3 separate regions of the Homo sapiens genome follow, and all the other regions are linked to region 2. The links are contacts of gene promoters, found by promoter capture Hi-C in human tissues and cell types (Jung and others, 2019). All regions are on one chromosome and are shown on one strand. The core of a region is centred on a gene start or on the middle of the fragment in contact, and the rest is flanking DNA. Distances in the headings are between cores, read along the strand shown. Region 1 holds the start of ZNF324B (zinc finger protein 324B). Region 2 holds the start of TRIM28 (tripartite motif containing 28). Region 3 has its middle 12 kb from the start of ZNF132.

Region 1 (4,580 bases), core at 1,719-4,218, 92 kb after region 2:
GGTTCAAGGCCACACAGCCCAGCTGAAGGTAGGCCCTTCTGTGTGAACCCAGCTCCTGTGCCCTTGGAGCTCTCCCTTCAAGGGCACCTACTAAGGCAGCAGCCTCCAGGAGAGGCTGATGATGGAAGAGAAGGGAGTCAGGTAGGAGGCAGGAGAGGAGGATGTGTTTCCAGAGTCAGAAAAGCAGGGACATGGGCTTGGCCACAGGTTGGTCCTTAGTTCACCCCACCTGAGCTCCCACTCACCAGAGTTGAGCCTCCCGTAGGTGTTCCTGGCCAGGGTCATGTCCTTTCCACTGGGAACCCAGGGCTCCTCGCCACGCTCAAGTTGAATGACCACACGAGGTCGGGAGGTAGAGAGTCCTGTGAGGAGGAGCAGGTGAGAGCCCAGCCCCAGGTCAAGACAACCCACCTCCCAACAGAGAGCAGGAGTCAGGGCTTCATGGAAATAGACAGTAATCTGTGCAACTGGGAGAATCTAAAGATAGCACAGGGCAAGGGGCTCATAGGAATAGCTCATGTGTCCCCAGAGCAGCAACTGTGCCCAGAGCACCAAAGCAACGGGACTGAGCCCAGGCATGAGAGAGGCCACAGCTGGACAGGGCGGCAAGGAGTGGCTGACCCAACCAAACTTTGTGTCTACAGGACCAGACCCTTGTTCCACGTGGCCCTGGCCAGATTTGATCCTGCTCATCAACCAGGAGGGAAGTGAAGAGGCAGTCCTGATTGTCACCAAGTGCACTTTTCATGGAGCACCCAGGGCCTTACCAAGTGAGGTCACAAGTGTGAAGTTTTCCAGCATCACGTGGCGGTACAGGGCCCTCTGCGCTGTGTCCAGGAGCCCCCACTCCTCCTGGGAGAAGTACACGGCCACATCCTCGAAGGTCATCAGGTCCTAAAACAGCAGGGAGGTGGAGGTAGGCATGGTCTAAGGTATGGCTGTGAGCCAGGACCAAGCTCCCCATCCCAACAGTCACCTCCCCCAGTGTCCCTCCTTCCTTGGGTTCCACCCCGAGATTATCTTCAGGTGGCACTTCCCTCACCTGTCTGGGACCCCTCCCCTCTGCCCTCCTGGTCCAGGCCCCAGATGGCTTCTTGACTTCCCCACTGGCCACCCCTACACAAGCAGGCTAGAGCAAGCCCTGGCTGGGCCCTTAGCTGCCACACCAAGGGCAGCCCCAAATATCCACTCGTGACTCAGCATGACCATTCATGACCCTCCCCAGATGTGCCCTTCTTGCTTTTGTAATAAGCAAGGGTGTAAGTCCCAGCTGTGGACCCCCCAGGCATGCCCATCACTGAGACCTTCCCCTGCTGCGCTTGCCTGACATTTCCAGGCTGCTCATCCAGCCTGAGGGACTGGATGATCCCCACCAGTCGTCATAGGGGTGCAGCCCCAAGAACCTGTGAACACAGGGGAACTCAATCCCTTCCTCCCTCCACATGGCGCCCCCTCCTCAATTTATTTATTTATTTATTTATTTATTTATTTATTTATTTATTTATTTTTATTTTGGAGACGGAGTCTCACTCCGTCACCCAGGCTGGAGTGCAGTGGGGCAATCTCGGCTCACTGCAAGCTCCGGCTCCCGGGTTCACGCCATTCTCCTGCCTCAGCCTCCCGCCACCACACCTGGCTAATTTTTTTGGATTTTTAGTAGAGACCGGGTTTCACTGTGTGAGCCAGGATGGTCTCGATCTCAGCGCTCCCGCAATTTCTTTCCCACATTGCTGCCACCCTCTCCTATTCAGCCACCTGCCGAACTCCTCCCCTGATAGCCTCAGGCACCCCAGCCGGTTTTCTTTACCCTCAAGCTGTAACTCCGCACGCCTGACTGCTCATCGCCTTCTTCAGTCCAGTTTATAGGCCCTGTCCTCAGCCCAGGACACCAACAACGTCAGGTCCAGTGACATGACCAACCTGGGACATCCCAGACTCTTGATCTTTCCCCTGAAGGAAACCTGCTTTCCTTTCAATTCTCCTTTCTATCTACAGCAGCTCTCTTCTTCCAGGCGCTCAGGCTGAACAACATGGGGTACTTAGTTCTTCAAACAGCCCACACCTGATGCATCCGCAGATCCACCAGAATTCACCTGGTCGCCCACCTCCACTGCTGCCCAGACTGTGGCAGTCGGTTCTTCCCTTCATGCCGACACCCCTGCATGTCTGTTCTCCACGCAACAAACGGTGGAACCGTTTTAAAGTCCCAACTCAGAGGATGTCCTGATTCTGTTCAAAACTTCTATGTCTCCCGACGCCCTCGAGATAAAGCCCACTCCCTCGCCTGCTACTGCAGCCGCACACATCCCCTCTACTCCAGCTCCACATCGAGAGCGCTCAGTCCCAGAAGCATCTGGGCTTCGGCTCCCCTCCCAGGTTTTGCACACGCAGGACTCTCCCCTCGGAGCCTCCTTCGGGACCTCAGCCCCCTGGCTGCCGGAAGTCGGGAGCTCACCAGTGCCCTGGACGCAGGAGTTTGCACTGACCCCCGCAACCCCCCCAGGGCAGGGAGAGGAAAGACGACTAGGCGAGGTCTAGGAAGCGGCCTCACTCCGTGGGGGCGCAGTCTGTGTGAGCAGGGACTCCCCCGCCCCCCCGGCGCGGGCTTGTCAGCGCCACCGCCGCCAGCGGAACCCGCAACTGGGAGGGAAGAAAGGCATGGACCACCCGGGACCGCCATCCCCGCCAGCAGCCTCCCGCGGCTGCCCCGCGCCTCAGCCTGCCCGGCAGTCATGGGCGCAGAATGCCCAATGCGCTGCCTCCTGGGCTTCCGCGGGGCGGGAGAACGCGTGGTTCCCGCCGGGGCCCGACCGCCCCCGGGCCGACCACGTCATACTCGAAGATACCGAGGCTTGGGGGCGCGGCCGGCTGCTCGTGGTCCGTACCTTCCTGGCCGCCCGCCTCGGGCCCCGACCCGCGCGCCACAGCCCAGACCACCGGTGTGGCCTGACGCGAGCAGCCAAGTGACAGTCCCAACGCCGGAAGTCCAGCCCCCAGAGCTCACATTGCCCCAATACGCGCGCAGACGCTTGCGCACAGCCTTCTGGGTTATGTGGTTCCTGCCTGTTTTTCGGCGCGGAGGCGGGGCCATTACCAGTCTCCATGGCAACGGCTAAGCGCCGCCGCGCTGGGCGCCTGGAAATGGAGTAGCGCAGCTGCCGCGGGTTTCCAAGGGCTCCGTGGCACTGGTTGAGTCGCCCGGCAGGTTGTCCCGCGTTGGGGATTCCCAGTTCCTGGCACCCACCTAAGCAGCCCTGGAGACTAAACCCTGCAGGTGTGAAAGCAGAAACTGCGGAGGTTCCAGAAGGCAACACCAGCAGGTAGCAGGGAGGAGAAAACGCACCGGGTAGGGCAGGTGTAGGTGGAGGAGCAGATGCCTGGAGCTCCGGGTTCCCTTCCCAGCTTTGCATCTCACTGACTGTGCATCCTGGGCGAGGGTTTGATCTCTCTGTGTGTCAGTGTCCCGTAAAGGTTTAAGGTCCGTTTTTCAACCTCTACACCAAGAATTCTCAGCCTGTAATGACACTACCCGCTTGTCATTTGTCTTGATTCTGTGATTGTTCTTGGACGCTCGCCCAAAACTTGTTTTCCTTGTAACTTGGACGAGCAGAAGGTAATTCCCCAGCCTTGCTTGTCCTTAGACCATCTAGTTCTTGCTTTGCCCCACACATCACAACATGGATGCTTTGTTCCTTTTTTCTCTGGACCAATCTAAGTGTCTTTGACACATAACAACAAAAGGCAGGGCAGTCTCAATGTAGACTGACCATGTTGTTGGCAGAGAATAAACGATTCTCTCTTTGTTGCTTCCCTGTGAGGGTCTTGTTTTTAGGATCCTTAGACAGTTCTCAGATGTCAAGTACGTTAATTCATTTTGTCTTCCTCTATACCCACCTCCATCTATAAATATCTGTCTACTGTCAGCTATAACTGTCCACAGAATTGATTCTACTTGTAGATCCCTATAGTGTAAGATAGCTCGACAATTTTTGAATGTTTTTATTTAAATTTTTCCTGCTTTGAAAGAATTTAAGAACACTTAAGTACTATTGTGATTTAATCAAATGCTTAGAGGCATTATTAACATTTCAAGCAATTTTTTTTTACTTTTTTTTTTTTTTTTTTGAGACAGGGTCTCACTCTCTTACCCAGGATGGAGTGCAGTGGTGCATACTCGGGTCACTGCAACCTCCGCCTCCCATGCTCAAACAGTCCTCCAACTTCAGCCTCCCAAGTAGCTGGAACTACAGGCAGGAGCCACGATGCCTGGTGTATTAGTCTGTTTTCACGTTGCTGATAAAGACATATCTGAGACTGGGTAATTTATAAAGAAAAAGAGGTTTAGTGGACTCATAGTTCCACGTGGCTGGAGAGGCCTCACAATCATGACAGAAGGTGAAAGGCACGTCTTACATGGCAGCAGGCAAGAGCAAATGAGAGTCAAGCAAAAGAGGAAACCCCTTATGAAACCATCAGATCTCGTGAGACTTACTCACTACCACAAGAATAGTATGGGGGAAACTGTCCCCATGACTCAGTTACCTCTAACTGGGGCCCCTTCCACAACATGTGGGAATTAT
Region 2 (4,323 bases), core at 1,680-4,179:
CCTGGATTCCTTTTCTTCTCCTTTCATGGTTAACTTCCTCCCTCTTCCCTGACAAGAGAACACCAGGGTCTCTTACAATCCAAGGGCCCAGAGGAAACCTTGTAGAGGTTCTCATACTGGGAGAGATGAAATGTCAAACCAGGACCCTCAGAATGGTGGTCACACCCCCTCTAGAGCAGAATCTTGGTGCTCAGCATAATCCCACCCAAAGACCAACCCATTAATAACCTCCAAAGCCTGTCTCCCCATTAGAAAACTGATCAAACACACTGGTCCCACATACCAACCAAATCCAAAATATGTAGCATCAGGGCTCATTGGGGAAACTGACTTCCCCAATGCCACTCATTCCTGCACCCTGACCTTTGCCTGGGACGTCTGGAATGTAGGACACCCTGCAGCCCCTGCGTATCCCTCCTGGCTGCTCAGGCCCCACAGCCACCACCTTCCCGCTATCTTCCACCAATGCTGTCCTCTGGGATGGGAAGAATCACAGTATGGCTACCAAAAGGCCACTCATGGGAGGATTCTGGCCCCAAAACTTGGCTAGACTCAAAAGACTCTCAAGCTCCTTCCAAACCAAAGCTAGCTGTGTCTGTGAAAAGCTGGAAATGCCAAACCAAACTTTGGGTAAGTCTCTGCCAACTCAAAAGCTAAAACACTTCCAAAAATCATCATCACTTATAATCCATGGACCCACAGTCTACTTTCCCTAGCAGCATCTTATACCAGATGTGTGCCAGGGAACCACAAACCCAGAAAGCCCTTCACACCATGCCTTTCCCTGTTTGCATATGCTGAGCCCTTCACCACCAGGTCTGACAACTCCCTGATAAGCCTTCTCAAACCCTTTGTACCTCCCTGCAGCACATTAAGGTCTCCCTTATTTCCCCTTCCCACCCTCTCCCACCTAGGCCCTAGAGACTACACACCACAACCCCAGTTTTTCTGCTTCTGGAGTTCTGCCCTCGGGCCCTTCGGGCGGCACCCCCTAGAGAACTCTAGGACCCATCCACCAGATGCAACCAACATCATAAAAGCAACTGAGGGCACACATGGGAGAACAACTCCAACAGCCCCCCTCAGCCTCATGTACCAGTAGAGCGCACAGTATGGTCCTTGGTGTACTTCACCCGCTGGTGCGCCTCTACACAGGTCTCACACAGAGGCTCCGAGCACTCCACACAGTAGCTGGTGGCTGGGGCATTATCCTCACAGCTAGTGCAGCACTGCCAGACAAAGGCAGGGTCAGAGAAGGCAAGACAACTTGATAGATCCACGTTTACATCCCAGAAAATACAACCGGAGATTTAAGATTGGTCCCTTGACCCAACCTAGGCAGCCCACCCAGAGCCTTGGGAAAGTGGAGTAACAGCCTGGAGCTGGTGCCAAGCTCCTCCTGCGCAGATGCCCCCTCCCCAGAAACCTCCTTGTGGTTGCTGAGATAGGACGCACCTGGTTCGCATCCTGGGCGTCGGTGGCAGCCTTGCTGCCACTATCACGCATGAAATAATTCTCCACGATGTCTTTGGAGAAGCACTGTTGCTTGCACACGGGACAGTCCACCACTTCGAGAAGCAGGGATGTGGGAGACTGTTACAAGTTCCCACCCAGGTTATGGCCCCCACCATTCCCCTGCTGGGTGGGCCCCCGACCATTATCCCGCAGCGAACCAGCCCCTCCCCTCCCCGAGCCTTCTTTTCTCCAACTTTAGTCAGATGTCCCATCTCAGCGGCCAGCACAAACCCACGTTCGTATGCAGGACCCAGAAAGTATTTCCCGTGCCCTGTCCGGGCCCCCATCCTCTCGCCCAGGTGGCATCCTCATCTCTGCACCCAGTCGGAATCAAAGGCAGAGAGTAGGGGGAGGGGTGGCACCGATCACTTCGTACTTACCGGTGCCGTCGCCCGCCGCCCCGCCGTCCCCCGAGCTGTTGGCGGCGGCGGGGGCCGCGGGCCCTAAGCAGGCACTACAGGCCGAGTGCAAACAGGGCAGCAGGCGGGGCTCCCTCTCGGGTCGCAGGCGCTCTCTGCACACGCCGCAGTGCTCCAGCAGCTCCAGCGCCTCGGCGCCGCCCCCCGCGGGCGACGACGCCGCGGCTGAGGCAGAGGCCGAGGCTGCGGCCGAAGGGGCGGTGGAGCGCTTTTCGCCGCCAGCGGAGCCCTCGCCCGGGCCCGGGCTGCCAGAGGCGGCCGAGGCCGCTGCTGCCGAGGCTGCCGCCGCGGAGGCCGCCATTCACACGCCGCCGGGGGCGCCCAGGGGGGGAGGAGGGGCGCGGGGCCCGCCGCGCAGGCGCAGACGCGCTCGCCGCCAACTGCTGGGCCGCTGCCGCCGCCGCCGCCGCGAGGCCGAGCGCCGCCACGCGCCTCCTGGGCCGCTGCCCGCCGCGCGCGGGACGCTGCTACGGCACGGCCAACTGCTGCCTGCTCGCCTCCCGAAGGCGCCGCCCGCGCTTCTTCCTCAGCCGCCGCCGAAACCCGCACCACGCGCCACAAGCACAAGCACAACCGCTCGCCCGCGCGCCCGCTCGCAGAAAGAGCCGAGGCCGGGGGGCGGGACAGAAATAACTGGCGCCGACGCCGCCGCGCACGCGCATTGGGCGCCTCACGCCCGGGGGCGGGGCCCAGGCCGGTCGGTGCGGGAGAGGCCGCCAGTACGCACGCGCCAACTCCTAGTCCTTCCACCACCGCCAACCCCACGTCGGTGGGGCTCTTGTGGGGGCGGGGCGGGGCCTCTGTGACGTCACTGCCGCAATTGAATCCGCCAGTGGGGTATGCGAACCTTTATAGAGTGTGATTCCCCTCTCAGCTCCACCTCCAGACCACACAGAAGCGGGCCGCTGTGCGCCCAAGCGCATGGGCAATCCGTCCCTCTTCCTCAACCCGCGTCTCTTCGCCGCCGTAGAGTCGTCTCCAGCCTCTGCGTCACTAAGAGTTCGGGATAGGGGGCAGGGCCGATGGAGAAGTAGGCGGGGCCAAGACCGAGTGAAGGGCTGTGTCCAGGGAGAGGGGAGGAGAGTCTCCATCCCAAGAGGGAGGAAGCTCCTGTGTGAGCTCGGGTGCTGACTTTTGGATTTTAACCACGCTATAGTTAAACTTGAGAAACACAGAAACTTGACTGAATCAAATGTAGATCACAGCCGGGCGCCGTGGCTCATACCTGTAATCCCACCACTTTCTTAGGCGAGTCGGGAAGCTCCGTTTAGCCCAGGAGGCCGAGGCAGCAGTGAGGCGGGATTGTGCCACTGCACGCCAGCCTAGACCACAGATGGAGAAAAATGTGGCCGGGCGCGGCGGCTCACGCCTGTAATTCCAGCACTTTGGGAGGTCGAGGCGGTTGGATCTTAAGTCAGGAGTTCGAGAGCAGCCTGGCCAACGTGGTGAAACCCCGTCTCTACTAAAAGTACAAAAAGTAGCCGGGCGTGGTGGCAGGCGCCTGTAATCCCAGCTACTCGGGAGGCTGAGGCAGGAGAATCGCTTGAACCCGGGAGGCGGAGGTTGCAGTGAGCCGAGATCGTGCCATTGCACTACAGCCTGGGAGAAAAGAGTGAAACTCCATCTCAAAAGAGGAGAGAAAGGTTTTTGTGTTTGTTTTGAGACGGAGTTTTGCTCTGTTGCCCAGGCTGGAGTGCAGTGGCACGATCTCGGCTCGCTGCAACCTCCGCCTCCCGGGTTCAAGCGATTCTTCTGCCTCAGCCTCCCGAGTAGCTGGGATTACAGGGGCCTGCCATCACGCCTGGCTAATTTTTGTATTTTTAATAGAGACGGGGTTTCACCACGTTGGCCAGGCTGGTCTCGAACTCCCGACGTCAGATGATAGACCCACTTTGGCCTCCCAAAGTGCTGGAATTACAGGTGTGAGCCACCACGCCGGGCCCCCCAACCCCCCATCAAGAAAAAAAATATATATATATATATACACATATATATAAATCACAAGAGGCTAAAGAGCAATGAGTCTGTGAAATCCCACCCAGCCCCCCAAGGCATCCCCTCCCCATGTTTTCGTCAGCAGCTACCCTGACTTTGATGCTTTTCCAGATGGGGAAACTGAACCTCAACAGTGGGGAATCCCAAGGAGGGAAGGAAGCAGGTCCATGTGGGGAGAATCCTGTCTGAGGTGGAAAGTAGGGTTTGTGTGGGGAAAATCCTGTCTGAGGGAAAGAGGGTGTGTGTGCGGAGGGGAACCCTGTCTGAGGAGGGAAGCAGGGTCTGTGTGGGGAGAATCCTGTCTGAGGAGGGAAGCAGCGTCTGTGTGGGGAGAATCCTGTCTGAGGAGGGAAGCAGGGTGTGTGTGGGGAGAATCCTGTCTGAGGAGGGAAGC
Region 3 (4,676 bases), core at 1,767-4,266, 120 kb after region 2:
CAAATGCAGTGAAAATGGGAAAGCCTTCAGCTATAGACACCCCCTTTTAAGAAAAATCACCAGAGAATTCACAAGAGAGTTATGGGCAACAAATGTGGGAAAGCCACAGCTCCCAGAATCTTAGGCGGCACTGTATTACTGCTATTGCAGAAGCCATCTGTATTAGTTACCTATTGCTGTGTAACAAATTACTCAAAACCTAGTGGCTTAAAACAATAGTCACTATTTCACAGTCTCTATAGGTCAGGAACTTTGGTGCAGCTAGCTGACTCCTCTTTAGGGTTTCTCACAAGGCTAACATCAAGATGTCAGCTGGGGGTGTATCATCTGAAGGCTTGACTAGGGAAGGCTCTGCTTCCAAGCAAACTCATGTAATTGGCAGCATTCAGTTTTTTGTGGGCTGCTGGACTGAGGACCCGTCTGTTGGTCTGAGACCTCCTCCAGTTCTCTGCCACATGGGCCTCTCCAAAATGGCAGCTTGTCAATCAAAGCTTGCAAGCTGATCATGCAGTGGAGAATACCAACAAGTCAGTCATTTGTAACCTAATAACAGAAGTGAGATCCCATCATCTTTGCTAAATTTAGTTAGAAGCAAGTCACTTGGTCCAGCCCACAGTCAAGGGGAGAGCATTACACAAGAGCATGAATACCAGAGGGCAGAGATCATTGGAAGCCATGTCCAAAGCTGCCTGCCATACTGTCTCATCTCTGCCACCTGGCAAGATCTCATGATATGTATCAGTCTCCCTCACTGTGCTAAGGGAAAGCAGACTATACTCCCTTTTCCATTCTCTAGAGAGAATTACATAGGCTTTGAGTACCTTCATTTTCTTTCCCACTGATGGCTTTAGATTTTGGTATGACAATTCTTGCTAAGATCTGAGCTGGTGTCTTCTGGAGCTTTCCAGAAAAGGTTTCTTGGCCGGGCACAGTGGCTCATGCCTATAATCCCAGCACTTTGGGAAGCTGAGGCAGGCAGATCATGAGGTCAGGAGATCGAGACCATCCTGGCTAACATGGTGAAAACCCACCTCTACTAAAAATACAAAAAATTAGCCAGGTGTGGTGGCGGGTGCCTGTAGTCCCAGCTACTTAGGAGGCTGAGGCAGGAGAATGGTGTGAACCTGGGAGGCAGGGTGTGCAGTGAGCCGAGATCGTGCCACTGCACTCCAGCCTGGGCGACAGTGTGAGACTCCATCTAAAATAGAAGAAAAGGTTTCTCTTCATGGACATTGTTTGCATCTACATGTGACACTTAGGAATGATCTGTTTAGTCTCAATCACTCACTCCTGGATCTGCCTGTCTCTCTCTGAGATAACAAAGGCCTTAATGTTTAGCCACCTGCATCAGAGTTGGTGAGGTGGTTTGAAACAATTCATCCTAATATAAAAAGAACAGCTTTTGTAAGGGGGCACTGAGTGTCTCAAACAGCCGCATGGGCAGGAAGAGTGCTCAGTCCAGTTTTGGTTGAATTTGTCTTGTTGCCCTAAGGCCTCCTATGAAAGACTGACAGGCTTGGACTGAATCTTGTGATCTGGACACCAAGGGTCACCTGTGGGCCCAGAGCTAGCTCTGAAGAATGGGGTAGTTTCTTTGAGAACCTCCACAGCAAAAGTTTGGTCCTCTGTTCCCAATGCATGTCCCACTTTACCAGCTACATCCCCCAGTACCTGCCCATGGCTCATGACTCATGAAATATAAAACTCAGTAGGCAGGCATAACTGGTTCAGACCTGCCAGGGCTATGTGGGAACTATCATTGGTACAAAAACTCTAAGTGTGGAGAAGACTGTGGTAGACAAGAGGGGACATGTCTGTTCTAAACGCACATCAGAAACTTCCAATGACTATGGCCAAGTGAGATAAGGGTGTACAGAACTTCTCAGGACATGCAGACCTATGTGTCACTCATAACTGAAATTCAAATAAATATTTTGTGGATTTCCTGTGGACTCCCTGGGCTGTTCATCTCATGGCCATCACTGCACAGGTAGGCACCTCAAGACAGAGAAGACAGAAATCATGGTCTGGAGTGGCTTATGTGAGTAGCCAGGGTTTCTTGAGAATCATATGGCCGTGGCCTTCATAATTCCACTTCTGGTGGCCACCAAGCAGGTCTGTCCCTCTTAAGGGGTGGGGAGACAATATGGTGGAGTCAGTACAGATTTCCCATATCTCCTGGTTTTCCAAGAAGAGCCAAATATTCAGATTTCTATGTGGCATGTGATTTTATAAATGTTGAAAATCATTTCCAAAAACATTTCAATGCAAACTCAGTTCACCAAAACTATAGGTTGGCTTTAGATATTTCCCTGGGTCCTCCTGAGGCCTAGGGGAGAAAAGACCGGAAATCCTCTGACATGAGAATCTTTGGCCTGTGGTGTCCATCCATACTGTATGATGGATCAGAGGCCACTGCAGCTGCCACGTCTCCTGGAAGCCCCTGAGGGGATGGACAATGATAACCACATTGTGAGCAGAAGCCACAACAGTTTTGCCGTCAGCAAAGTTTACAGCAGGGCTTCTCAAATACTCCCCAGCACAGTGAGGTGTCTGGGGGATACCTACCCTACTCAGGCCTTCCTTCCTGAGTGTAATGTCTCCAATATGGAAGATGCTAATGTCTCCAATATGTAAGACACATGTGGGATCAGAATTAAAGGTTAGCTGAGCCATATGGGGCTCAGCCTTCTAAGCAAATAAAGTTAGGGTAGACACGTCATCAGAGCTCAATCCTCTGTGTGAGTGGCCAAGATTAGATCTCATAAGATGGTGCTGGGCATGATTGTGGCATGCCTGTTTCCAGCTACTTGAGGCAGGAGGATCACTGGATCCCAGGAGTTCAAGACTGCAGTGAGCTATGTTTGCACCACTGCACTCCAGCCTGGGCAACATAATGAGACCTTGTCTCTAAAACAGGAAAAAAAAAAGGCTGGGCGCGGTAGCTCACGCATGTAATCCCAGCACTTTGGGAGGCCAATGCGGGCGGATCACCTGAGGTTGGGACTTTGAGACCAGCCTGACCAACATGGAGAAATCCCATCTCTACAAGAAAAGAAAGAAAGAAAGAAAGAAAGAAAAAGAAAGAAAGGAAGGAAGGAAGGAAGGAAGGAAGGAAGGAAGGAAGGAAGGGAAAGGAAAGGAAGGAAGGAAGGAAGGAAGGAAGGAAGGAAGGAAGGAAAGAAAGAAAGAAAGAAAGAAAGAAAGAAAGAAAGAAAGAAAGAAAGAAAGAAAGGAAAGAGAAAGAAAGAAAGAAAGAAAGAAAGAAAGAAAGAAAGAAAGAAAGAAAGAAAAAAGCCAGGCATGGTGGCGCATGCGTGTAATCCCAGCTACTCAGGAGGCAGGAGAATTGCTTGAGCCTGGGAGGCAGAGGTTGCAGTGAGCTGAGATCACGCCATTGCACTCCAGCCTGGGCAACAAGAGTGAAACTCCGTCTCAAAAAAATAATAAAAAATAAAAATAAAAAAGGAAAAAAAAAAGATTCCTAATACATGAGTAGAGTCCTACGTGTTTCTACTGAACCTGCCTTCTGATCTCCGACTGGGTCTCAGTATACAGCAGCCAACCTGTTAGGGGAAGATAGATGTTTGCCAATAATGCCAGAATATTCCAGGCAAAGTCCTGATGGCTGTGACTTTTGAGCTGTCCAGGTTACCAGCTTTTGTGGGATTCAGTGGCTCCACTGCTTTCAGACTATGCTCAAACCAAAAGGCAGTTGCCTTCAGCCCCTTGATGCAGTGTACTGACTACCCTGTTATTGTACACTCTGCTGTATGCAATGGTAGTTCTCTTCTGGAATCTACTGGGCAGTTCCTTGCCCCTGGGCCTTTGCTTGTGCCCTCCCACATCAGGGACACCCTTGAAAGGCTTCTCAACCTCTCCCAATCATACCTCCAGATCAGCTATACCTCTCCTTCATGCTAGTGTCAGCATCTGTTGATTCCCTCATCTCCAACTCCCAAGCTTTGAGTGAACTATCTGGAACATGGGGGCTGTGAAATCTGAAGAGCAGCAGATTAAGGCCAAGGGTGCCAAAACACTCAGTAACCTTCTCTGGCTTGGCTCAACTTGGACTCCTACTGCTAATAAATTGTGCGATCTGGGGCACAGACTCCCAAGCTTCAGCTGTCTCATCTATAAATCCATGAAATCTGTCTCACAGTGTCCACCAGAACTTCTGACAACACAGAAAACTCTCCATCAATATGAAGCCCTTTACACCGACAGTGGGAATCACTACATTCTCCTTAGGCCACACCCACTAACCAGAGCTTCAGCCATTATACACGGATGGCAGACAATGTTGTCCTACCACGCCATCCTCTCACCTTGGACCCCAATTTTGACATTTCCAGACTCGCCTCTTGTGAAACCCAGATCCTCTACCCCCAGCCCCAGCCTTCTTCTGGCACTCAGAGAAGTCAGCCAAGCTTCGATTGTTTGATGGGGAGGCATGGCCTGACAACTAATGACTCAGAGCTACCAGTCTCTGGCCTCTCCAAAATGCCAAGAACTCATCGATCTGCAGACCTTGTAACCCTCAAGGAATCACTATACCCTCAATGGATATGAAAATAGACACCACTGTGATTCAAGAAGGTGATCTAAGAAAGAAGCACAAGTGAAAATTTATAACCAAGAGATTTCAACATGGGAGGGTGGAAATCTAGAGGTAG

Evidence for each region. The method cuts DNA at HindIII sites, captures the fragments that hold promoters and counts their contacts. A contact is called where the count stands out against the background at its distance.
Region 1: a contact is called between the fragment with the promoter of ZNF324B here and the fragment with the promoter of TRIM28 in region 2, in 1 of the 25 tissues and cell types used here (dorsolateral prefrontal cortex).
Region 3: a fragment that was not itself captured here is called in contact with the fragment with the promoter of TRIM28 in region 2 in 4 of the 25 tissues and cell types used here (H1 embryonic stem cells, heart left ventricle, ovary and 1 more).

The regions. Positions count from the first base shown.
Region 1 is chr19:58,450,010-58,454,589 of GRCh38, reverse strand. It overlaps ZNF324B (zinc finger protein 324B), which reads right to left and starts at 2,968. Exons shown (of 4, transcript NM_207395.3): 1 at 2,886-2,968; 2 at 768-894; 3 at 246-362. The coding sequence starts at 888. RefSeq lists silencers at 2,529-2,958, 2,936-3,262. The HindIII fragment of the contact is 12,073 bases long and covers 1-4,580 here.
Region 2 is chr19:58,542,670-58,546,992 of GRCh38, reverse strand. TRIM28 (tripartite motif containing 28) reads right to left here and starts at 2,929. Exons shown (of 17, transcript NM_005762.3): 1 at 1,896-2,929; 2 at 1,456-1,568; 3 at 1,097-1,229. The coding sequence starts at 2,235. It also overlaps the pseudogene RN7SL525P. RefSeq lists silencers at 1,909-2,198, 2,219-2,378, 2,459-2,668 and enhancers at 2,789-3,098, 3,250-3,754. The HindIII fragment of the contact is 31,195 bases long and covers 1-4,323 here.
Region 3 is chr19:58,425,909-58,430,584 of GRCh38, reverse strand. It overlaps a transcript of ZNF324B not described here. Among named protein-coding and RNA genes, the nearest start is that of ZNF132, 12 kb to the left of the region's middle. The HindIII fragment of the contact is 6,648 bases long and covers 1-4,676 here.